Linked DNA regions of Homo sapiens: all the other regions are linked to region 1. Evidence: promoter capture Hi-C in 16 types of primary human blood cells and fetal thymus (Javierre and others, 2016). All regions are on one chromosome and are shown on one strand. Each heading gives the region's core, a stretch centred on a gene start or on the middle of the fragment in contact. The rest is flanking DNA. Distances are from core to core; before and after follow the strand shown. Region 1 holds the start of PPIL4 (peptidylprolyl isomerase like 4). Region 2 has its middle 68 kb from the start of UST-AS2. Region 3 has its middle 67 kb from the start of TAB2-AS1. Region 4 has its middle 48 kb from the start of TAB2-AS1. Region 5 overlaps RAET1E-LRP11 (RAET1E-LRP11 readthrough). Region 6 has its middle 25 kb from the start of TAB2-AS1. Region 7 overlaps LRP11 (LDL receptor related protein 11).

The links. The method cuts DNA at HindIII sites, captures the fragments that hold promoters and counts their contacts. A CHiCAGO score of 5 or more calls a contact.
Region 2: a contact is called between a fragment that was not itself captured here and the fragment with the promoter of PPIL4 in region 1, in 5 of 17 cell types (naive CD4 T cells, non-activated CD4 T cells, total CD4 T cells and 2 more). The highest score is 10.0, in naive CD4 T cells.
Region 3: a contact is called between a fragment that was not itself captured here and the fragment with the promoter of PPIL4 in region 1, in 5 of 17 cell types (non-activated CD4 T cells, naive CD4 T cells, total CD4 T cells and 2 more). The highest score is 7.5, in non-activated CD4 T cells.
Region 4: a fragment that was not itself captured here is called in contact with the fragment with the promoter of PPIL4 in region 1 in 1 of 17 cell types (neutrophils); the score reaches 5.6 in neutrophils.
Region 5: a fragment that was not itself captured here is called in contact with the fragment with the promoter of PPIL4 in region 1 in 1 of 17 cell types (naive CD4 T cells); the score reaches 5.5 in naive CD4 T cells.
Region 6: a contact is called between a fragment that was not itself captured here and the fragment with the promoter of PPIL4 in region 1, in 4 of 17 cell types (neutrophils, non-activated CD4 T cells, naive CD4 T cells and 1 more). The highest score is 7.2, in neutrophils.
Region 7: a fragment that was not itself captured here is called in contact with the fragment with the promoter of PPIL4 in region 1 in 5 of 17 cell types (naive CD4 T cells, erythroblasts, neutrophils and 2 more); the score reaches 7.5 in naive CD4 T cells.

Annotation. Positions count from the first base shown.
Region 1 is chr6:149,544,437-149,547,688 of GRCh38, reverse strand. PPIL4 (peptidylprolyl isomerase like 4) reads left to right here and starts at 1,646. Exons shown (of 13, transcript NM_139126.4): 1 at 1,646-1,753. The coding sequence starts at 1,684. RefSeq lists enhancers at 77-753, 1,457-1,756. The HindIII fragment of the contact is 2,652 bases long and covers 758-3,252 here.
Region 2 is chr6:149,099,422-149,102,673 of GRCh38, reverse strand. No RefSeq gene overlaps it. Among named protein-coding and RNA genes, the nearest start is that of UST-AS2, 68 kb to the right of the region's middle. The HindIII fragment of the contact is 4,506 bases long and covers 1-3,252 here.
Region 3 is chr6:149,188,537-149,191,788 of GRCh38, reverse strand. No RefSeq gene overlaps it. Among named protein-coding and RNA genes, the nearest start is that of TAB2-AS1, 67 kb to the left of the region's middle. The HindIII fragment of the contact is 1,996 bases long and covers 746-2,741 here.
Region 4 is chr6:149,207,449-149,210,700 of GRCh38, reverse strand. No RefSeq gene overlaps it. Among named protein-coding and RNA genes, the nearest start is that of TAB2-AS1, 48 kb to the left of the region's middle. The HindIII fragment of the contact is 1,182 bases long and covers 1,136-2,317 here.
Region 5 is chr6:149,871,430-149,874,681 of GRCh38, reverse strand. The region is part of intron 5 of RAET1E-LRP11 (RAET1E-LRP11 readthrough); the gene reads left to right. All of the region lies in intron 1 of RAET1E-AS1 (RAET1E antisense RNA 1), which reads right to left. Among named protein-coding and RNA genes, the nearest start is that of LRP11, 8.7 kb to the right of the region's middle. The HindIII fragment of the contact is 1,552 bases long and covers 982-2,533 here.
Region 6 is chr6:149,230,783-149,234,034 of GRCh38, reverse strand. It overlaps a transcript of TAB2 not described here. Among named protein-coding and RNA genes, the nearest start is that of TAB2-AS1, 25 kb to the left of the region's middle. The HindIII fragment of the contact is 8,008 bases long and covers 1-3,252 here.
Region 7 is chr6:149,827,429-149,830,680 of GRCh38, reverse strand. All of the region lies in intron 5 of LRP11 (LDL receptor related protein 11), which reads left to right. The region is part of intron 13 of RAET1E-LRP11 (RAET1E-LRP11 readthrough); the gene reads left to right. Among named protein-coding and RNA genes, the nearest start is that of RAET1E-AS1, 34 kb to the left of the region's middle. The HindIII fragment of the contact is 3,228 bases long and covers 116-3,252 here.

The DNA of each region.
Region 1 (3,252 bases), core at 397-2,896:
ACATTGTGTACCAGGCTGTCATACGCATTAGGGATATAGCTTTAAACAAAACAGACAAGATGGAATATCCTGGAACACACATTCTAGTAACAATAAACAAACAAACAAATTCGTAAATAGCATGTTAGATTGTAAAATGTACTCTGGAGAAAAAGCTATATGGAGAAAAAGAAGTGTCTGTGGGGTTAATTTTAATTATGGCAGCCATGGAGGGCCTCACTGACAGGGTGACCGACGCCAAAGCGCCTGAAGGAGGTGAATGGGAGCCATACAAATAACTGGAGGAAGAGGTCCCTCAACCAAGGCAAGTGAAAAGGCCATGGGGCAGGAGTATGTCAGCAGTGTTCAGGGAATAGCAAACTGTCTACTGTGGCTTCAGAGGAATAAGAAGATGGCGTAGGATGGGGTAGGAGAGGATCTTGTAAATCATTATAAAAGCTCTGGCTTTTCCGCCAGGTGCGGTGGCTCAAGCCTGTAATCCCAGCACTTTGGGAGGCGGAGGCGGGCGGATCCACGAGGTCAGGAGGTCGAGACCATCCTGGCTAACACGGTGAAACCCGGTCTCTACTAAAAACACAAAAAATTAGCCGGGCGTGATGGCGGACACCTGTAGCCCCAGCAACTCGGGAGGCGGAGGCAGGAGAATGGGGTGAACCCGGGAGGCGGAGCTTGCAGTGAGCCGAGATCGCGCCACTGCACTCTAGACTGGGCGACAGAGCGAGACTCCGTCTCAAAAAAAAAAAAAAAAAAAAAAGCTTTGGCTTTTCGTCAGATGTGAAGTTATTGGAGATTATGTGTAAAATGTCATAAGAAAGAGTGACAGGCTTGCCCAGAAGAGTGTCTGGGGAATAAACTTGCATGGCAAAATGTTAGTTTTGGCCAGGCGCAGTGGCTCACGCCAGTAATCTCAGCACTTCGGGAGGCCAAGGCGGGAAGAGTTCGAACTCCTTGAGCTCAGGAGTTTGAGACCAGTCTGAGCAACATAGTGAGACCACCTCCCCCGACCGCCATCTCTACAAAAAATAAAAGAACAAAATTAGCCGGGCGTGGTGGCGCGCGCCTGTGGTCACTTGGGAGGCTGAGACAGGAAAATCGCTGGAGCCCGGGAGGTGGAGGTTGCAGTGAGCCGACATCGCGCCACTGCACTCCAGCCTGGGCAACAGAGCGAGACCCTGTCTCAAAACAGAAAACAAAACAAAATGTTAGTTCTTAGAATCGGAAACCCCTAGTAGAGGCCCAAAGTTGTTTTGCGAAAAGGAGACTGACGAGGAAACCCGGAGGAGTCCGCCCAAATAGGTGGAGAGAAGATCCCGCCGCGGGCGCCCCCTGGTGGATAAAAGGGCCGCGCGGAGGGCCGCTCTGCTCTTGAGACGGACACAAACGGGGCACAAAACACTATACTGAGACCGTTCTGAGGGACAGGCTTCCACCAAAATCGCCAAGGGCGGACCAGGATTTTCAAAACGGCCGCGCCGGGGGCGGGACCAACCCGATCCGTAAGTCAGCTGGGCAGCCCGGCGCCCGCACGCCGACCGGAAGGAACTGCTCGGAACCGGGGGCGGCGCCGGCGAGATGACGCAAAAGGGGTCGCGCCGAGGGTGACGCGTGGCGTAGACGACGCCGTCGGCCTGCGCCTGTCACCCCCCTCCTCCCGGGGTTTGTAGCGGAGGAGGAGCGGGCGCCATGGCGGTTCTACTGGAGACCACTTTAGGCGACGTCGTCATCGACTTGTACACCGAAGAACGGCCGCGTGGTGAGGCTTGAGCCCCACTCACCTGTCGCCGGGGCCCCCGAGCTTGTCTCCCTACTTTCCCTTCTCTGCGCAGTCCAGGGCAGAGATTGGCTAGAGCTCGAGCTTCTGGGCTGCTGGTGCCCGCGACTGGGCTATTTTATTAACCGGCCTTGGCTAGAAAAGTTTTTGTGACGGGAATTCGTTTGAGCCTTGGCAGCCCTTCTCCCGTATTTTGTGTTGGCCAGTCCGGTGGACGGTGCTTGCGGTCATTAATTGCCTTTGGGAGTGTGTGTGTGGGGCGTGTGTGTGTGTGATTCGAGCTGCACATACAATACCCATAGCTTTTGTGCCTTTATTGTGTTTACTCGTGAGAGGAACATAGGAACTATTGCTTGGTGTGTAATCGGTTAAATCTTGATGAAGGCAGTTAGGGTGTGCTTGGCGCAGCGAGTGTGGGCATACCGCTTAGGTGGAGGAGGAAGAGGTTGTCTGGAGTGTGGACTGAGCCTTCGAGGCACTGGGCTAAGTCCTGGGCTTGGCTTCTTGCCCCCGAGGGTCTGATTTTTCCACTGGGGGAAGTAGACACAGGAACCCATTTTAGTTTTCTATGTGTTATGGTAGAAGAATGTGTAAGTTGCCACGGAAACCAGAAGAGGGCGGCTTCTTTGGTGGGGGGTGGGAAGAAGCAAAGCTAGCGAATACTATATAGAACACTTGAACTAGTTCTTTCAAAGATGAATGGGAATGAGGGTTTTCTTAGCTTGGACTTTCTTTGTTTGGAATTTTCTGGAAACGGCAAGTAGTTTGGTGTGGCTGGAAGGACTGGTGTGAGTCGTGGAATGGTAGACTCGAGTGTGGTCAGATACGCCTAGGTCAGTCGTGAATAGTCTTGTGTGCCCTACTGATGATCAGAGTCCTTGAAGACTTTAAAAGCAGGATTGAGGCATGGCATACTTGTTTTGAGAAGATAATAGGCAGCGGTGTGGAGAATGTATCAGAGTCAGGAAGAAACTGAGACCAGGAGAGATTAGTTACAAACAGGGTCCTACCCACATGGAATGCAGAGCCTATCAAAGAAGGTGAAATAAGTTGCAATATTGTACAATAACTACCTCCTGCCGTGCTCCGCTTTCCCTCGCACGCAGCTATTCCTCCCTCCTCTCCACCTGGCGAAAACACTACAAACTCTCCCGTACCATTGTTACCATTCTTTTGCTGTTTCTTCTAAACAATATTCTTCTCCACTATTGTCCTTCTGGCAAACTTACTACTTATTATCTAAATCTCAGATCAAGCATCATCTCTTCTTTGAAGCTCTCCCTCCTTTCTAAGCAGAGTTACCTGAGGGTTCCTCTGCTGTGTCTTAGGTCTTTTATAAACCACATGACACATTTTATTTTAACATTTACCTATTATCCTGGTGTTGTTTACAAGCGTGCCCTCGCTCAAGAATGTAAACTCCAATGAGAGCAGGAACTATACCATAATTATCATCTCTATATCCTGAGTACCCAGTACAA
Region 2 (3,252 bases), core at 359-2,858, 440 kb after region 1:
GTTCAAGAGCATGGGATGTGATATGGTTTGGCTGTTAAAATCTCAACTTGAATTCTAATTCCCATAATCCCCACATCAAGGGAGAGACCAGGTGTGGGTGATTGAATCAGGGGGGTGGTTTCCCCCATGCTGTTCTCATGATAGTGAGTGAGTTCTCATGAGATCTGATAGTTTTATAAGGATATCTTCCCCCTTTGCTGGGCACTTCTTCCTGCTGCCTTGTGAAGAAGGTGCCTTTCTTCCCCTTTGCCTTGCACCATGATTGTAAATTTCCTGAGGCCCCCCCAGCCAAGCTGAACTGTGAGTCAATTAAACCTCTTTCCTTTATAAAATTACCCAGACTTGGGCAGTTCCTTATAGCAGTGTGAAAACGAACTAATACAGGATGTTTTTCCATTTGTTTGTGTCATCTATGATTTCTTTCATCAGTGTTTTGTCATTCTCCTTATAGAGACCATTATTCTCCTTGGTTAAATGTATTCCTAGGTATTTTATTTTTCTTATAGCTATTGTAAATGGGATTGCTTTCTTGATTTGGTCCTTGCCCAGGTCATGATTGTTGTATAGAAATGTGTCTGATTTCTGTATGTTAATTTTGTATCCTAAAACTTCGCTAAATTCATTTATCAAGTCTAAGAATTTTTTGGGTAGTGTCTTTAGGGTTTTCTAGAGATAAGATTAATCATCAGCAAAAAGGGATAATTTGACTTCTTCTTTTCTGATTTTGATGCCTTTTATTTTTTTTTCTTTTGCCTGATTGCACTGGTGAGGACTTCCACTGCTATGTTGAATAAGAATTATGAAAGTGGACATCCGGCATTATTCACAATAGCAAAGACTTGGAACCAACCCAAATGTCCAACAATGATAGACTGGATTAAGAAAATGTGGCACATATACACCATGAAATACTATGCAGTCATAAAAAATGATGAGTTCATGTCCTTTGTAGGGACATGGATGAAATTGGAAATCATAATTGTCAGTAAACTATCGCAAGAACAAAAAACCAAACACTGCATATTCTCACTCATAGGTGGGAATTGAACAATGAGATCACATGGACACAGGAAGGGGAATATCACACTCTGGGGACTGTTGTGGGGTGGGGGGAGTGGGGAGGGATAATATTGGGAGATATACCTAATGCTAGATGACGAGTTAGTGGGTGCAGCGCACCAGCATGGCACATGTATACATATGTAACTAACCTGCACAATGTGCACATGTACCCTAGAACTTAAAATATAATAAAAAAGTAAATAAATAAATAAATAAAAAAGAAAGTGGACATCCTTGTCTTGTTCCAGTTCTTGTAGGGGATACTTTCAACTTTTCCCCATTAAATATGATGTTGGCTGTGGGTTTGTTGTATGTGGCCTTTATTATGTTGGAGTAAATTCTTTCCAGGCCTAGGTTCTTTTCATCTTTCTTGAAGATTTTTATCACTAAGGCATGCTGAATTCTATTGAATGCTTTTTCTGCATCTATTGAGATAATTATATGGTTTTTGCCCTTAATTCTGTTTATTTGATGTATAACATTTATTGATTTTCATATGTTGAAACATCCTTACATCCCTGGGATACAACCCAACTGATTATAGTGTATTAACTTTTGGATGCACTGTAGGATTTGATTTGCTAGTATTTTGTTGAAGATTTTTTCATTTATGTTCATCAGGGATATTGATCTATAGTTTTATTTTTGTGATGTGCCATTGTCTGGTTTTGGTATCAGGTTGATACTGGCTTGTAGAATGAGTTAGGGAGAATACCTTACTCCTTAATTTTTTTTTTAATAATTTCAGGAGGATTGGTATTAGTTCTTTGTATATTTGGTACAATTTGGCTGTGAATCCATCTGGTCCTGGGCTTTTTTTGTTGGAAGATTTTTTACATTACTGCTTCAATTTCACTACTTATTATTGCTCCATCCAGGAGTCCTATTTCTTCCTGGTTCAATCTCAGGAGGTTGGTGTGTTTCCAGGAATGTGTCCATTTCCTCTAGATTTTCTTTGTTTGTGAGCATATAGTTGTTCATACAGTAATAATAATAGTCTCTGCTGAAGCTATTATTTCTTTTTCTTTTTGTATTTCTGTGGTATCAATTGTAATGTCTCCTTTTTCACTTCTGATTGTGTTTATTTGGATCTTCTCTCCTTTTTCTTGGTTATTCTAGCTAGTGGGTTATCAATTTTGTTTATCTTTTTGAAGAACTTACTTTTCATTTCATTGATCCTTTATATTATTTTGTTCTCTATTTCATTTAGTTCTGCTCTGATCTTTGTTATGTCTTTTCTTCCGCTAACTTTGGCTTCGTTTTGTTCTTGCTTTTCTATTTCCTTGAGGTGCAACATTGGGTTGTTATTTGTTATTTCTACTTTTTTTTCCAAAGTATTTTTTAATTTTAATATTTGTGGGTACATAGTAGGTGTATATATTTATGGGTTACATGAGATGTTTTGATACAGGCACATAATGCATAATAATATTATGTAAAATGGGGATATCTATCCCTTCAAGTATTTATCCTTTGTGTTACAAACAATCCAGTTATGCTCTTTTAGTTATTTTAAAATGTACAATTAAATTATTATTGACCATAGTCATCCTACTATTGTATTTCTCGATGTAGGCATTTAATATTATAAATTTAACTCTTAGCACTGCTTTTGCTGTATCTCCCAGGTTTTGGAATGTTTTATTTTCATTTTCATTCATTTCGAAAAATATCTTAATTTCTGTTTTAATTTTTTCATTGACACAGTGAGTTTTTCAGGAGCATGAATTTTAATGTCCAGGGGTTGGTATGAGAAAGCTCTAAAGTACCTTTTGGTATTGATTTCTAGCTTTATTGCACTGTGATGCAAAAAGATACTTCATGGAATTTTGATTTTTAAAAACTTGTTCAGGATTGTTTTGTGGCCTAACATGTGGTCTGTCTTGGAGAATGTTTCATGTGCTGATGAAAAGAATGTGTATTCTGTAGTTTTGGGGTGAAATGTTTAATAAATGTCTGTTAAGTTCATTTGGTCTGAAATCCAATTTACCCCAATGTTTTTGTTAATTTTCTGTCTTGACAATCTGTCTAGTGCTGTGAGTTGGGTGTTAAAATGCTCCACTCTTATTTGTATTGCTTTATTTCTTTCTTTAGGTCTAGTAACATTTATTTTATGAATTAAAGTGCTGCAATGTTGAGTGCTTATATATTTAGAATTGTTATATTCTCCTGTTGAAGGATCCCTTTATC
Region 3 (3,252 bases), core at 494-2,993, 360 kb after region 1:
TGAAGAAGTTTCATATATTTGGACCCTTATAGTATGTAGTCCTTTAAGTCTGACATCTTTCATTTGCTGTAGTATTTAAAAACTAGTTTTATTGAGGTATACTTTGCACCCAGTATAACTCATTTATTTTAAGTGAACAGTCTGATGACCTGATAAATGTATACAATCATGTAATCACTGCCACAATCAAGTTAAGACATAGAACATTTCCATGGACCTCCAAAAGGCTCTCATTACCCTTTGCAGTCAATCCCTTGTCTGCAGTGTCTAATCTGCTGTTAATCTTATCATTATATTTCTCCTATCATATTTTTTTTTAACCTCTACAAGTTCCATGTGGATTTCTCATATCAGATTTTTTTTAACCTCTACAAGTTCTATTTGGATCTTTTTCATATCTGCTATTTCTTTTATCATTATCTTTATGTTTTATTTTATATCTTTGAACATGTTAATAAGATTTTAAAATCTTAATCTTTCAATATTAAATCTTTTAAGGTCCTTCTACCCATTCTATTATCTCTGGCATTTCTGAGTCTGTAATTGATTCTTCTCCTGGTTATAGGTAATCTCTTCTCGTTTCTTTACATGCTTTGTGATTTTTGATTGAATCTTAGCCATTGTCAATTTTACGTTGTTGAGTGCTCATTTTACTGTATTTCTTTAATGAATACCGACTTTTTTCCTTTTTAGCAGTTAAGTTACTTGGGATCAGTTTTATCTTTTTAAGACTTTCTTTTAAGCTTGTTATGGTGGGCCCACCACATCCTTTAGTTAGGGCTAATTTAGCCCCTCTACTCTGGCATCATGATTTTTGCCAATACATTGTTATTGGTTTTGCCTTGAAGACTTTAAAAATGTTTTATTCTTTAAAAAATATTTTTTATAAATAAATATATTTTCTTAAATATTAAAATTGAGGAAAAATGATCTTTTAAAAAAAAGTTTTCTCACCGGCTGCCTGGATATAAAGTTGGTGCTGTTGGGGGAGCACAGGGGGATTGAGACTGGCCTTTTTGGCTGCATAGGGGCTGGGTGAGGCCTGTCACTGCCAACTTTCCACCACTTCCCTGGCAACCTGTATGATGCAGCAGAGGCAGCCATAATCCCCCAGGAAACATAACTCTGTCAGCTGGAGAAAAACACCCTCATCCCCTATAGCAGCCACAGCAAGCCTTGCCCAAGGAGAGTCTGAGCTCAGACATGCCTAACACTGCCCCCACCTGATGGTCTTTCTCTACCTGCCCTGGTAGCCAAAGACAAAAGACATTATCTCTTTGAAGCTCTGTGGCTTCACCCATCACCTGGCCAACCTAGGGCAGGCTTGTATCCTCCCTGTACTACCACAGCTGATGCTGTCTTGAAAGCGCCACCTCCTGGCTGGAGGCCAATCAACACAAACCATTACAGCAACTCATAAAAGAACAGCCTTGTCCCAAGAAAGGAGAAAACAGCTAACTCTACTGCCTGTAACATCCTGGATAACCAGAGGTCCTGAGTCTGTCTACATGACAACTTTACTGCCAGGACAACCAGCATTAGAGAAAACCAGCACACTAAACAAAACTACAACAAAGTTCCCACAAAAAGTCCACCTCACTCCTCTGCTACCTCCACTGGAGCAGGTGCTGGTATCCACCTGAAGATGGATCACATCACAGGACTCTTTGCAGACACTCCCCAGTACCAGCCCAGAGCCTGGTAGCTCCACGGGGTGGCTAGAATCAGAAGAGAAATAACAATCACTGCACTCTGGCTCTTAGGAAGCCCCATCCCTAGAGGAAGGGGAGTGTGCCACATCAAGGGAATACCTGTGGGGCAAAAGAAAATGAACAGCAGCCCTTGAGCCCCAGATCTTTTCTCTGACACAGTGTACCCATATGAGAAGGAACCAGAAGAACAATTTTGGTAATATGACAAAACAAAGTTCTATTATGCCCCCAAAAGATCACACTAGCTCACCAGCAACGAATCCAAACCAAGAAGAAATATCTGAATTGCCAGCAAAAGAATTCAGAAGGTCAATTATTAAGTTACTCAAGGAGGCACCAGAGAAAGGTGAATACCAACTTAAAGAAATTTAAAAAATGTTACAGGATATGGATGGAAAAATCTCCAGAGAAGTACATAGCATAAATAAAAAGTAGTCACAACTTCTGGAAATGAAGGACACTCTTAGAGAAATGCAAAATACGTGGAAAAACCTCAACAATAGAATTGAACAAATAGAAGAAAGAACTTCAGAGCTCAAAGACAAGGCTTTCAAATTAACCCAATCTGACAAAGACAAATAAAACAGAATCAAAATAATGAACAAAGCCTCCAAGAAGTTTGGGATTCTGTTAAACAACCAAACCTAAGAATAATTGATGTTCCCAAGGAAGAAGATAAACGCAAAAGTCTGGAAAACATATTTGAGGGAATAATCGAGGAAAACTTCCCTGGCCTTGCTAGAGATTTAGACATCCAAATATAAGAAGCTCAAAGAACACCCAAGATATTCATCACAAAAAGCTCTTTGCCTAGGCACATAGTCATCAAGTTACCTAAAGTCAAGAAGGAAAGAATCTTAAGAGTTGTGAGGCAAAAGCATCAGGTAACCTATAAAGGAAAATGTATCAGATTAACAACAGGTTTCTCAGCAGAGACCCTATAAGCTAGATGGGATTGGGGTCTTATCTTTAGCCTCCTTAAACGAAACAATTATCAGCCCAGAATTTTGTATCCAGCGAAACTAAGCTTCACAAACAAAGGAAAGATATAGTCTATTTCAGACAAACAAATGCTGAGAGAATTTGCCACTACCAAGCCAACACTATAAGAACTGATGAAAGGAGCTCTAAATCTTGAAACAAAACCTCAAAATACACCAAAATAGAACCTTCTTAGAGCATAAATCTCACAGGACCTATAAAACAATAACAATGAAGAAAAAAAACCCACAGGGTATTCAGGCAACAATTAGCATGATGAATAGAATAGTACCTCACATCTCAATACTAATGCTGAATATAAATGGCCTAAATGCTCCACTTAAAAGATACAGAATGGCAGAATGGATAACAATTCACCAACCAAATGTCTGCTGCCTTCAAGAGACTCATCTAACATAAGGACTCACATAAACTTAAGGTAAAAGGGTGGAGAAAGATATTCCATACAAATGGACACCAAAAGCAAGCAGGAGTAGCTATTACCATATCAGACAAAACAGATATTAAAGCAACAACAGTTAAAAAAGACAAAGAGGGA
Region 4 (3,252 bases), core at 477-2,976, 340 kb after region 1:
CTGGATAACACCTTCCTGCTATCTACCCACTACAAATAGAGCCCCAGACTTAGTGTCACACTCTGAATCTGGGGTTATGTCTCGAGGACTCCAGTCCTTTTCTGCCCATTTCTACAACATATGACTCATCTAAATCTGCTCCCTGCAACCACAGCTAGCAACAAGCTGGTCTGAGAAGGCTGGCTTTGCATGGGATTGTCTCTGTTGTTTGTCAGTCTATTTAAAACACTCAGTACAATTGTCAGGAAATATGCTTTGACTGCCTGGAAGAAAAGCAGGAGTAGTAAGCAAGTCAGTGCTTTGAAAAACCTACAAATATCTAAGAAGCCCTCTCAATCACCTTTTGTTTATATCCAGATATGCAGAGCCTTATTTGACCTATTTCCTCATCAGCAATGGATGTGTTTTATTGAGGTCCTCCTACGTGCAAGACATTCTATAAAATTCCTTGCATGTATTTTCTCATTTTTCATGAAAACTGTGTTGACTAAATGTTATCTCTGTTTGGCAGAAATGGAGATTGAAGTTCAGAGAATTTAAGTACAAGTAGTAGATGGCAATGCTGAGACTGAAACCCAGGTTTATCTTTTTCTTAAGCCTATGTATTTTTTTAAAAACTATGCTGTGCTGTTGTAGATGAAAGTTTCTAATCACTCCAGCACTACTTATCTACCCTGTGCAGCTATGCCTGGGCTTACTATAAATGTTCAGAGCAGTCTTGAGCCCTTTCAGCTCTGTCTCTTCCATGCCCTCTGCCAATGTGGAGGGGTAGATGAGCCTCCTCCTTCTTACTGGTCTTGGACAGCAGGAGTAGGAGTGAGGATTAAAAATAATAGATCAAATGCACTCACACATCTCCCAAGAACGAACAGTAGGATATGGTTTGGATATTTGTCCTGCCCAAATCTCATGTTGAAATGTAGTCCCCAGTGTTGGAGGTGGGGCCTGGTGTTTGAGCCATGGGGGCTGATGCCTCATGACTTGGTGCTGTCCTCACAATAGTGAGTGAGTTCTTATGAGTTCTGGTTGTTTAAAAGTGTGTGGCACCTCCCCAACCCCTGACTCTTTCTTTTACTCCCACTGTCACCATGTGAGATGCTTGCTCCCCCTTTGCCTTCTGCCATGATTGTAAGCTTCCTGAGGTCTCCCCGGACATCATGCAGATGCTAGCACCATGCTTCCTGTACGGCCTGCAGAACAGTGAGCCAATTAAATCTCTTTTCTTTATAAACTACCCAGCCTCAGGTTTTCGTTTTTTTTTTTTTTATATATAGCAATGCAAGAATGGCCTAACACACAGTAATTCTCAAAAATATCACATTTGGAAAGAGTGGCATATTTCCTAACATGAAACACCCTCTGCATGGATTTCCCCCATCCACAGTGTAACATGTAAAGCAATTACTTAGTCAATGGGTAGTGCCATTACCTTCTTTATTCACATGCCTGCTTCAAAATTCTCCACTCTTTCATCTCTACCTTCCCCCTTCTATGTCCAGGAAATAAGACTTGATATAAAATCACTTGTTCCTTAGCTAGACAAAGACCCAGTCAAATCTTTGAAATTAGTGCTTAAAACATTAAAGAAGTAATAGAGGCGGCCGGGCGCAGTGGCTCACGCCTGTAATCCCAGCACTTTGGGAGGCCGAGGTGGGTGGATCACGAGGTCAGGAGATCGAGACCACGGTGAAACCCCGTCTCTACTAAAAGATACAAAAAATTAGCTGGGCGCCGTGGCGGGCACCTGTAGTCCCAGCTACTCGGTAGGCTGAGGCAGGAGAATGGCGTGAACCCAGGAGGCGGAGCTTGCAGTGAGCCGAGATCTCGCCACTGCACTCCAGCCTGGGTGACAGAGCGAGACTCCGTCTCAACAACAACAACCAAAAGTAATAGAGGCAAAAGTTTTACAACATTCAAATAGCACAGAAGGAGAGAAAATAAACCAAAATAAGCCCATTCCTGCCTACCCTAAGTCTAAGTCCTGAGAGATAATTTTTATTTATTGATGTTTTAAATAATTTTGGTGTCTACTGTAACATCATTACACTAGAAATATGCTTATAGTTCCTTTTGAAAACAACATTGGATGGTATCTACTGGCTGCTCACTAAGAAACGTGAAGGATTTTGCACACAGCTATTATTTCCCACACACGTCTCCTGACAGTTGTGCTGCGTTTGCAGGGGGAGGGAAGGGGGGCACTGGGGTCTGCTCTCTTATCCCATTGGTGGTCCTTTCAATACTTGCCTTGATGTCTGCCCCCTGGCACACTCCTGTTCTCTACTAGTTGACTCAGAGCTTGGCATTGCCTGAAGCTTGATCAGTCAGGGGTCTGTCAGGAAAACAGAACTTATGCCAGGTAGTTCAATAGAGAGAATTTAATTAGGGGAATTAATTATAAAAGTCTTGGAAGAGCTGACAGAGCAAACTGAAGAATGAAGCAACTCAGATTTTAGAAGCAGAGGCGAGTTGGAGGATGGCATTCACAGAGTTTAGCAGCTCTGGCCCCCTTGCTGCATACTGGGAGAGCCTCCCAGCTACAGCAAGCCTTCCAGAAGGAACTAGAATCATGGAGTAGATGTAGCTGCTACTGGAAACACTGCCCAAGGCAGAGATAGAGGGGAGAATCACCCTGGCTTCTTCGGTTCTCCCTCCTGCCAGTCCCTTGCTAGTGCCTCCCGTTGGTTGACATCAGCCAGAAGCCAGTTTGGCAAGGGAGTCTGGAAAATATAGATTATAGGAGTTAATACTTTGAGACACAGAAAGAGCAGAGAGAGAGAGAGACAGAGAGAGAGAGAGAGAGTAGGAAATTAATCTGAACGCAAACAGGTGAATGATGGTGCTACAGGTTAAATTGTGCCCCCCTAAAAGATAAAAGATATGTTGAAGTTCTAGTCCCTGCTACCTCAGAGTGTGACCTTATTTGGGCATAGGGTCATTGAAGATGTAATTAAGATAAGATCATATTGGAGTAGGATGGACCCTGAATCTAGTATCGCTGGTGTCCTTATAAGAGGAGAAGGCTAGGCTCAGTGGCTCATGCCTGTAATCCCAACAGTTTGGGAGGCTGAGGTGGGCGGATCATCTGAGGTCAGGAGTTTGAGACCAGCCTGGCCAACATGGTGAAATCCTGTCTCTGCTAAAAATACAAAAAAATTAGCCGGACATGGTGTTGGGCACCTGTAATCCCAGCTACTTGGGAGGCTGAGGCAGAAGAATCGCTTGAACTGTAGAGGCGGAGGTTGCAGTGAG
Region 5 (3,252 bases), core at 508-3,007, 330 kb before region 1:
TGTAACTTTAAATCCCAAGGAACTAGAAAAAAAAAAGCAAACTAAGTTGATAGTCAGCAGAAGGAAGGAAATAATAAAAATTAAAGCAGAAATAATCGATGAATTTGAGACTAGAAAAACAATAGATGAGATAAACGAAACTAAGAGTTGGTTTTATGAAAGATAAAATTGACAAACGTAGACTAATGAAGAAAAACAGAGAAGACTCAAATGATTAAAATTATAAATGAAAGACATCACAATTGATATCACAGAAAGACAAAAGATCATGAGAGACTACTATAAACAATTGTGCACCCACAAATTGGGTAACCTAGAAGAAATGGATAAATTGCTAGAAACATAACCTATCAAGACTGCATCATGAAGAAAGAAAACCAGAATAGACAATTAGTGAGAAAGGAGATTGAATCAACAATCAAAAATCTCCTCAGGAAGAAAAGGCCAGGGTCAGATGGCTTCATCAGTAAATTCTACAAGACATTTAAAGAAGAAATAACATCTGTTTTTCTCAAACTCTTCCAAAAAATTGAAGGAGATGGAGCACTTCCAAACTCCTTTTACAAGAGCAGCATTACCCTCACACCAAAGCCAGATAAGAAAAATATAAGAAAAGAAAATTACAGGCCAATATCCCCAGTGATCACAGATGCAAACATTCTCAACAAAATACCAGCAAACTGAATTCAACAGCACATTAAAAGGATCATACACCACGATCAAGTGGGATTTATCCCTGGGATGCAAGAATGGTTCAACATGCAAAGCAATAAATGTGACACACCATATTAACATAATGAAGGATAAAAATTATATGATCATCTCAACAGACACAGAAAAAGCATTTGACAAAATTTAGCATCTTTTTATAAAAAAACTCTCAACAAATTAGATGTAGAAGAAATGTATCTCAACATAATAAAGACTGTATACAACAAGCCCACAGCTAACGTCATACTCAAAGGTGAAAACCTGAAAGCTTTCCCCCAAAAATCAGGAAAAAGACAAGAATGCCCACTCTCAGTGCTTCTATTCCAGAAAGTATTAGAAATCCTAGCCAGAGCAATTAGGCAAGAGAAGAAAATAAAATATTCAGATGAGAAAGGAACAAGTTAAATTGTCTTTGTTTGCATATGACATGATCTTATATATAGAAAACTCTAAAAACTACTCCCCCAAACCATTAGAACTAATAAATAAATTCAGTAGGCCAGACATGGTGGCTCACAACTGTAATCCCAGTACTTTGGAGGGCTAAGGCAGGAGGATTGCTTCAGGCTAGGAGTTTGAGACCTGCCTGGGCAACATAGTGAGACCCTCATTCTCAGGAGGCTAAAAATGGGAGGATCACTTGAGCCCAGGAAGTCAAGTCTGCAGTGAGCCGTGATTGTACCACTGCACTCCAGCCTGGGTGACAGAGTGACCCTGTCTCAAAAATAAATAAGTTAATGTATACAACAAAGTTGTAGGATACAAAATCAACATACAAAAATCAGTTGGATTTCAATACACTAACAATGTATTATCTAAAAAATAAATTAAGACACATTTATAATTGCATCAAAAAGCATAAAATACTTAGGAATAAATTTAACAAAGGAAGTAAAAGGTGTGTACACTGAAAAATATAGACATTGATGAAAGAAATTAAAGTAGACACAAATAAAAGGAAAGATATCCTGTGTTCATGGATTGGAAGAATTAATATTGTTCCAATGTCCATACTACACAAAATGTTTTACAGGTTCATTACAATCCCTATCAAAATTCCAGTGACATTTTTCACAGAAATAGAAAATACAATCGTAAAATTCAAATGGAACCACAAGGCTGGGCACAATAGCTTATGCCTGTAATCCCAGCACTTTGGGAGGCTGAGGTGGGCTGGTCACCTGAGGTCAGGAGTTCAAGACCAGCCTGGCCAACATGGTGAAACCCCGTCTCTACTAAAAATACAAAAATTAGCCAGGCGTTGTGGTGCACGCCTGTAGTCCCAGATACTCAGGAGGCTGAGGCAGGAGGATCACTTGAATCCAGGAGGCAGAGGTTGCAGTGATCTAAGATTATGCCATGAACTCCAGCCTAGGTGATAGAGCACGACTCCATCTCAAAAAAAAAAAAAAAAATGGAACCACAAATGAACTCAAATAGCCAAAGCAATCTGAGAAAGAAGAACAAAACTGGAGACATCACACTTCTTGATTTCAAATTATACTACAAAGCTATAGTAATCAAAACAGTATGGTACTGGCATCAATGCAGACATATAGACCAATAGTGGAACAGAACAGAGAGCCCAGAAATAACCCCACACATATATGGTCAACTAATTTTGACAAGGGTGTCAAGAATATGCAATAGGGAAAGGATAGTCTCTTCAGTCAATGGTATTGAGAATAAGTGGTAACCACATCCAAAGAATGAAATTGGACCTTTATCTTACAACCTATACAAAAGTTAACCCAAAATGTATTAAGATTTAAATGTAAGACCTGAAACTGAAACTACTAGAAGAAAACATAGGGAAAAAGCTTCTTAACATTGGTCTTGGTAATAATTTTCTTGATGTGACACCAGAAGCACACAAAAGCAAAAATAAACAGCTGGGACTGTATCAAACTAAAAAGCTTCCGCACAATAAAGGAAACAATCAACAGAGTGAAAAGACAACCCACAAAATGGGAGAAAATACTTGCAAACCATGTATCTGATAAAGAATTAATATCCAATGTTCGTCTTTAACACAGAAAGAACTCATATAACTCAATAGCAAAAACAAAAACAAAACCTGCTTTTCAAAAACTGGCAAAGGACACGAATAGACATTTTATTCAAAGAAAACCTACAAGTGGGTGACAAATACATAAAACGGTGCTCCACATTATTAATAATCGGAGAAATGCAAATCAAAATCACAATGAGATATCACCTTGCATCTGTTAAAGTGGTGTTATCATTTAAAAAAAAACACAAGAAATAACAAGTGTTGGTGAGTGTGTGGAGAAAAGAGAACCCTTGCACACTGTCAGTGGGAATGTAAATTGGTATAGCCATTATGGAAAACAGTACAAAAAAAAGTTCTATTAGAAACAGAGCTAACATATGACCCAGCAATCCCACTTCTAGGTATGTATCCAAACGAACTGAAAGCAGTATCTCCAAGAGATATCTGTACCCCCATGTTTATTGCAGCACTGTTCACAATAGCCAAGATATGGAAACAACCTAAGTGTTCACTGACAGGCCAATTAA
Region 6 (3,252 bases), core at 448-2,947, 310 kb after region 1:
AAAAAATCATAAACTGAAGTGAAGTACTGTTGGAACTTCATAGGAATAAATGTAAAAATGCCACATTTACATTTCATAAGCGAATTACACAAGGATAGGATTGAGAGGTCCAACCTAACAGCATTTGGGGAGGGTTGGAGGGCTTCATGGTGGTAAAAAAATTATATTATTGTTTATGGAGAGCCCGTTATGGATCAAGCATTGGATATATTAGGTTGGTGCAGAAGTAATTGCAGTTCTTGCCATTAAAAGTAGTTGCAAAAACAACAATCACTTTTGCACCAATTGAATAGATTAAGGTGAGTTTCTGGCCTTGAGAAATTTACAATCTAATAAACAAGTATATTGTGAAGTGTAAAGGAAAGCAGGACTAATCTATTGGAGAAAACCTTCCTAGGGGGTTTTCATTTGAAGAATGTCAGATCCATGAGTCATTTGGTAAACAATTACTTAGTGCTTTGTTAGGGGGCAGTTACATGTTGGTGATTCAGGGATAAAAAACCACTTCTGGCCTTTAAGAGGCTCATAATATAATGGAGGAGACAAACCAATGGCTCAACCATGACACTTACGTGTGACAAATCAGATGAAGAGATAAGAACTGGTTGCTGGGCCCTGGGTGGCTCTGGGCCCAGGCAGGAAGGAGGTTTAGTTTGCTGCTTTCTGCGGTGAGCTTTCAGGATCAACTTTCTTGGCCTACAGTAGAGGCGTCTCAGTGGAGAAGCCAAGGAGGCACACTGAGCGGAGGGAGGTTTGTCTCGGACCCTGGATGACAGATTCTTGGTCACTGTGCTAAGTGCCCAAGTTGTGACTTGTGCTGGAAAGCCCTTGTTTCTCACCCCCCGCCAGGTAGTTACCATGGCATTCATGACTTCCTTGGTTATTTCCTGTCATCATTTGTCCCCACCCATGAGTGCCTGGCTACCTCCATCTTCCGGCTGGTGGGTCTGCATGCAGGATATATCACTCCTGGTGTGAGGGGTGGACACTAGGCAGGTGAAACAGGGCTATTATGTACTATGCCCTGGCATGGGAGTGGGTACTCCTGGCCAGGATGTCAGCTGTGCCTGCCTTTTGGGCTTCGACTTCCACACAGGTCGCTGTGAGGGAAGTACAGCAGCATCCCTCAGGATGGGCCAGGGGTACGACAGCATTCCAAGGCTTGTTCTGCTCTGGGGCACTTTCTCTGGAGGCAGTTTAGTGTAGAGGATGAAAGCCTGCTTGGAGCCTACTTCTCCAAGCCTCAGTTTCCTCATCTGAAAAATGGAACTCTACTTTGTTGGATTAAAGGAAATAACTAATAGAAGGCAATAAACACAATGCTTGCTATATAGGGACAGCTAACTACACCTAGTGTTATTATCCAGTTCAGTGATACCCTCCCCCCACTTCTATGGTTTGAACAAGGCATAGCCTCCCTTAGTGGTATTCCTGTCATCGGCCTTGTTCCTGCCTCAGTGACACTGTGAGATCATAGTTCTGTCTTGTGTTAATATATCAAGCTCCTGGGCTGAGGGTGGTGGCTCACGCTTGTAATCTCAACACTTGGAGAGGCCGAGGCAGGCGGAACACTTGAGGTCAGGAATCCTAGACCAGCCTGGCAAAATGGTGAAACCCCGTCTCTACTAAAAATACAAAAATTAGCTGGGCGTGGTGTTGTGTGCCTGTAATCCCAGCTACTTGGGGGGCTGAGGTAGGAGAATCACTTGAACTGGGGAGGCGGAGGTTGCAGTGAGCTGAGATGGTGCCACTGCACTCCAGCTTGGGCGACAGAGCGAGAGTCCGTCTAAAAAAAAAAATCAAACTCCCTTTGTTTCTGTGTCTGTGGGTTGGCTGGTGGTCCCCGAGGCCTGGCCTCGTGCTCTTCCCTCTTCCTTATTTCTGCTGAACACTAAGGAACACCTCCCCAATCATTCTTCTCTTTCTAGCGCACGTCTTGTTCCCTGTCCTGTAAGTTCACAGAGTTTTCCCCCTCCACCCTCAAATTTCTGTTTCTGATCCTCACAATCAGGTCAGTGAGCTTCCTGTTAAGCATGTTTTCCCAAGCGTTTGTAGATCCTCTCGCTGTCCTTTGCCAGTAACCCGTTGCTCTGGGTAGGGAGCCCTGGTCCAGAAACCCTGCTCTCCGATACTCTGTAAAAGCCAGCTGTTCACTCCTCTCTTTTTTGCTTCCAAAGTTGTGAAACTTCAACTGGAAGAAGAAATGTAAACACCTCCTCTGCTCCCCTGATGTTTGAGCTTCCTCTTACTTGAGGACCAGAGATACGGTCTAAATGTCTTCCCCACTGTCAACTTTCCAAAGGAGATTTTCACACTCATTTCGAAAATACTTTGCTTAATTTTAGGTGTTTTAATATAGGAGCTCTAGCTTAGCTTATTTAAATTTCTTCTTTCAAGAGAAATTAGACTCATCTACATATGTACATATGCAGTGATTAAGTGCTTTTCCCAAGACAGTCAATATTATATAGAAAAGACATTTAAAGCGTGTTCAACTTACTTTAGGTATCACCCCCAAATCAAGTTTAAAATTTAATTTGTAGGAAAATTAGAAGAAAACACCACAAAGAGTTGTTAAACAAATGATTGCTTCCTACATACATACATGCAATTTACAGAATGCAATTAAGTATCTGATTGCATAAGTATATAACCACAGATGCATGCTGTTTTCTTGCTACTTTTTCCACCATTTTCTATGGAACAGAAAATAAAGTCTCTGACATTAAAGTGGTGACTGTTCAAGCTCACAAGGCATGCGGTAGTTATTAATCATCAGCTCCACTGCCCTTTTCATATGTAATAAAATGGAATCATTGTCCACATTTCGTCTCCCCTTCCTAATGTTCCCCAAATACTGGTGTAAAAGTTCAGAAGCACAAGAACTGAATTGTAATGAGGTGAGGCTGCAAGTTTAGTGTGGCAGCCTCTGATTAGAATGTAGGTATCCTGAAGGCAGAGAGACCTGCTTTCTATCTCACAGGGTTCCTTCTGAGAGCGCCCATTGGGAAGTGGGCTGACCAGCTCAGTAAGTGAGCTTGTCCAATTCCTACCCCATAGCACATCTCTCTCATGCAGCAAAACCCAGGACTGTGAATGCACAAAACATGCAGGAAGCCAAGGGGCCTGTTTTCAGTTCCCCTAAAATGCCAGAATAGCAGCCTGACCATAGAAAAATACTTACTGTAATTTCCTAACCTTTGCTGTGAATGTCAGTGTGTCAAAAGCGGGGTCCAATAGCTAGAATGAAAA
Region 7 (3,252 bases), core at 480-2,979, 280 kb before region 1:
ACAACTGAAGATTCAGAAAGAATTTGCATAGTTTTTTACATGAACCCACCTGTGAGGTTAGGTCCCTTTTGCAAGTACAGTTAGCCAATTTCTCTACTGCATCCTTAATAAAGCTTTGTCCAGAACCTTCCTAAAAATCATTTAAAAGTGTGTGATTTTGCCTGGGTATGAGTAAATAAATATAGTATTGACTTGGTTCTTGGAGTAAAAAACTCGTATTTGCTAGTTGTGACCTTGAGAGCAGTATGGTTCAATGGAAAACTGCTTTGGATCAGTCCTGGGTTCTAATTCCAGCACCACCAATTACTAGCTACTAAGTAATCAACTTCTCTAAACTTCATTTCCTTACCTGTAAGAGGATAATAATCTCAGCTGGGCACGGTGGCTCATGCCTGTAATTCCAGCACTTTGGGAGGCCACGGCGGGTGGATCACCTGAGGTAGGGAGTTCGAGACCAGCCTGGCCAACACGGAGAAACCCCATCTCTACTAATAATACAAAAATTAGCCAGGCGTGGTGGTGCATGCCTACAATCCCAGCTTCTCGGGAGGCTGAGGCAGGAGAATCGCTTGAACCCAGGAGGTGGAGGTTGCAGTGAGCCGAGATTGCGCCAGTGCACTCCAGCCTGGGCAACAAGAGTGAAATTCTGTCTCAAAAAAAAAAAAAAAAAAAAGAGGATAATAATCTCTCATAATATGGCTACAAAGATTGCAGGAGATATTATATGTAAATATAATTGATGTCTCTCAGTAAATGTTAGTGCTGTTTGAATTTTTGCTAGAACATTCAAGTCCAGTGGTATTCGCTAGGAAACCAGGGTAAGAGAGCGCCAAGTGTATAAGGCAGTTAATTCAAATAAAAAATAGAAATAGTGCAGTAGTGTTTCCAGTACTGAGTTCCTTTAAGAATTAAGATGAGCAAGCTCTCATCTTCATTGGGAAGAAACAGTGAGGTGAACACTGTAAATGCAGTTATCTTATTTTTTTTATTGGGTGAAAGACAAACCAGTTAGTCCTCTGAAAAAAATCGGGAGTTGGTGAATTTTGGCACTTTGTTTTTATTCCTGGCTCATTTTTAATTTTATTTTTATTTTTATTTTATTTTATTTTATTTATTTTTTTAGATGGAGTCTCGTTCTCTTACCCAGGCTGGAATGCAGTGGCGCTGTCTGGGGTCACTGCAACCTCCACCTCCCAAATTCAAGCGATTCACCTGCCTCAGCCTCCCAAGTAGCTGAGATCACAAGCGTGTGCCGTCATTCCCAGCTAATTTTTGTATTTTTAGTAGAGATGGGGTTTCACCATGTTGGCTAGGCTGGTCTCGAACTCCTGACCTCAAGTGATCCACCTGCCTTGGCCTCCTAAAGTGCTGGGATTACAGGCGTGAGCCACCATGCCCAGGCCCTGGCTTATTATTTTTAAAAAGTAGGACTTGAGTTTCCCACCATGTGATCTTCCCACTTCCAAATTTATTATTGGAGAGAGAGATAAAGCAGAATGCATAGAAGTTCCTTTGCAAGCTAACCTGGCAGTACGGCATGGGGGAGGAGGAAAGGGATGAAGGGAGAAGTGCCACAAGTGGTTTTTAGGTAACTTAGCAGTTTGATTTCCAAGCTGTTTCAGGGCTGCTAGTTTTGTGTGTGCGGCTGCTGGATGGACTGTTTTGCATATCACTGATTTATATCTCTACAGAACAAATCTTGTGTTTCTTTTGGAGATCCACGAGCAACTGGCATTTGAAAAAATCAGGCATTATTGACTTTAAAACACAGTAATGTTTTCTATATCTCTACCAAGCAAAAGCTCAGGAACATTCACTGGAGTCTCTGTAGTAATCTAAACAAGGCTTACATTGAACCTTCAAAATGCTATTGAAAATATTCATATTTTTAGGTCAGGTGCTGTGGCTCACACCTGCAATTCCAGCACTTTGGGAGGTCAAGGCGGGAGGCTTGCTTGAGCTCAGGAGTTCAAGACCAGCCTGGGAAACATGGCAAAACCCCATCTCTACAAAAAAATAGAAAAATTAGTCAGGTGTGGTGATGCTTACCTGTAGTCCCAGTTAGTTGGGAGGCTGAGGTGGGAGGATCACTTGAGCCTGGGAAGTCGAGGCTGCAGTGAGCTGAGATTGCACCACTGCACTCTAGCCTGGGCAACAAAGGGAGACCCTGTCTCAAAAAAAAAAAAGAAAATAAAACATACTCATATTTTCAATATGGATATCAACACCATGAGATTTGCACCATAAAAGCAGTGGTTAAATATGTACCTATTAACTACCTCACCCCTGAGAAAAAGTGTAAAAATTACTTGCCACAAAAATTGCACTCTGGTCTGTCTACTAGCAGTAAAAATATAATAAAATAAAAAAGCTGCATGGTCTTATTTTTCTGTATTAAATAGTGCTTTCCTATGTCAGCAGATGTTTACAGTACTTCTAGTATAGCTTCCTAGGCCAGAATCATATATAATAAAATCTTTTTTTTTTTTCTTTTGAAAAGGAGTCTCTGTTGCCCAGGTTGGAGTGCGGTGGCATGATCTTGGCTCACTGCACCCTCCGCCTCCCAAGTTCAAGTGATTCTCCTGCCTCAGTTTCCCAAGTAGCTGGGATTACAGGCGCCCACCACCATGCCTGGCTAATTTTTTTTTTTTTTTTTTTTGAGACGGAGTCTTGCTCAGTCGCCCAGGCTGGAGTGCAGTGGCGCGATCTCGGCTCACTGCAAGCTCCGCCTCCAGGGTTCACGCCATTCTCCTGCCTCAGCCTCCCCAGCAGCTGGGACTACAGGCGCCCACCATGCCTGGCTAATTTTTTTTGTATTTTAAGTAGAGACAGGGTTTTGCCATGTTGGCCAGGCATGAGCCACTGCGTGCGGCCCTTATGTAATACAATCTTATAGAACTACCTGGCCTGGGATCAGGTATCATATAAGAGAATCCAGGTAGCTGGAGAGGTCCTTGGTGACCACTGTCGTGGCTACTGCAGTGAGTTGGACAGTAACAGAACTCTTTTTGCAGGGAAATCTGATCCTGCAGCCTATGAGCAATGGCTGTGCTTTCCTCATCTCTCTCCTTCTGTCTGAGCTCAGAGTTTATGGAGAAAGCCCAAATTATTGGCTGTATGTAGGACCAACATACATGGAACTTTCTAGAGTAACAAGACACAGTAGACTGTCCCCAAAGTGCCAGGATTATAGGCATGAGCCAGTGCACCTGGCCAACTTTGTGACTTAGTAAATTTGCAAAATGCAAGTTA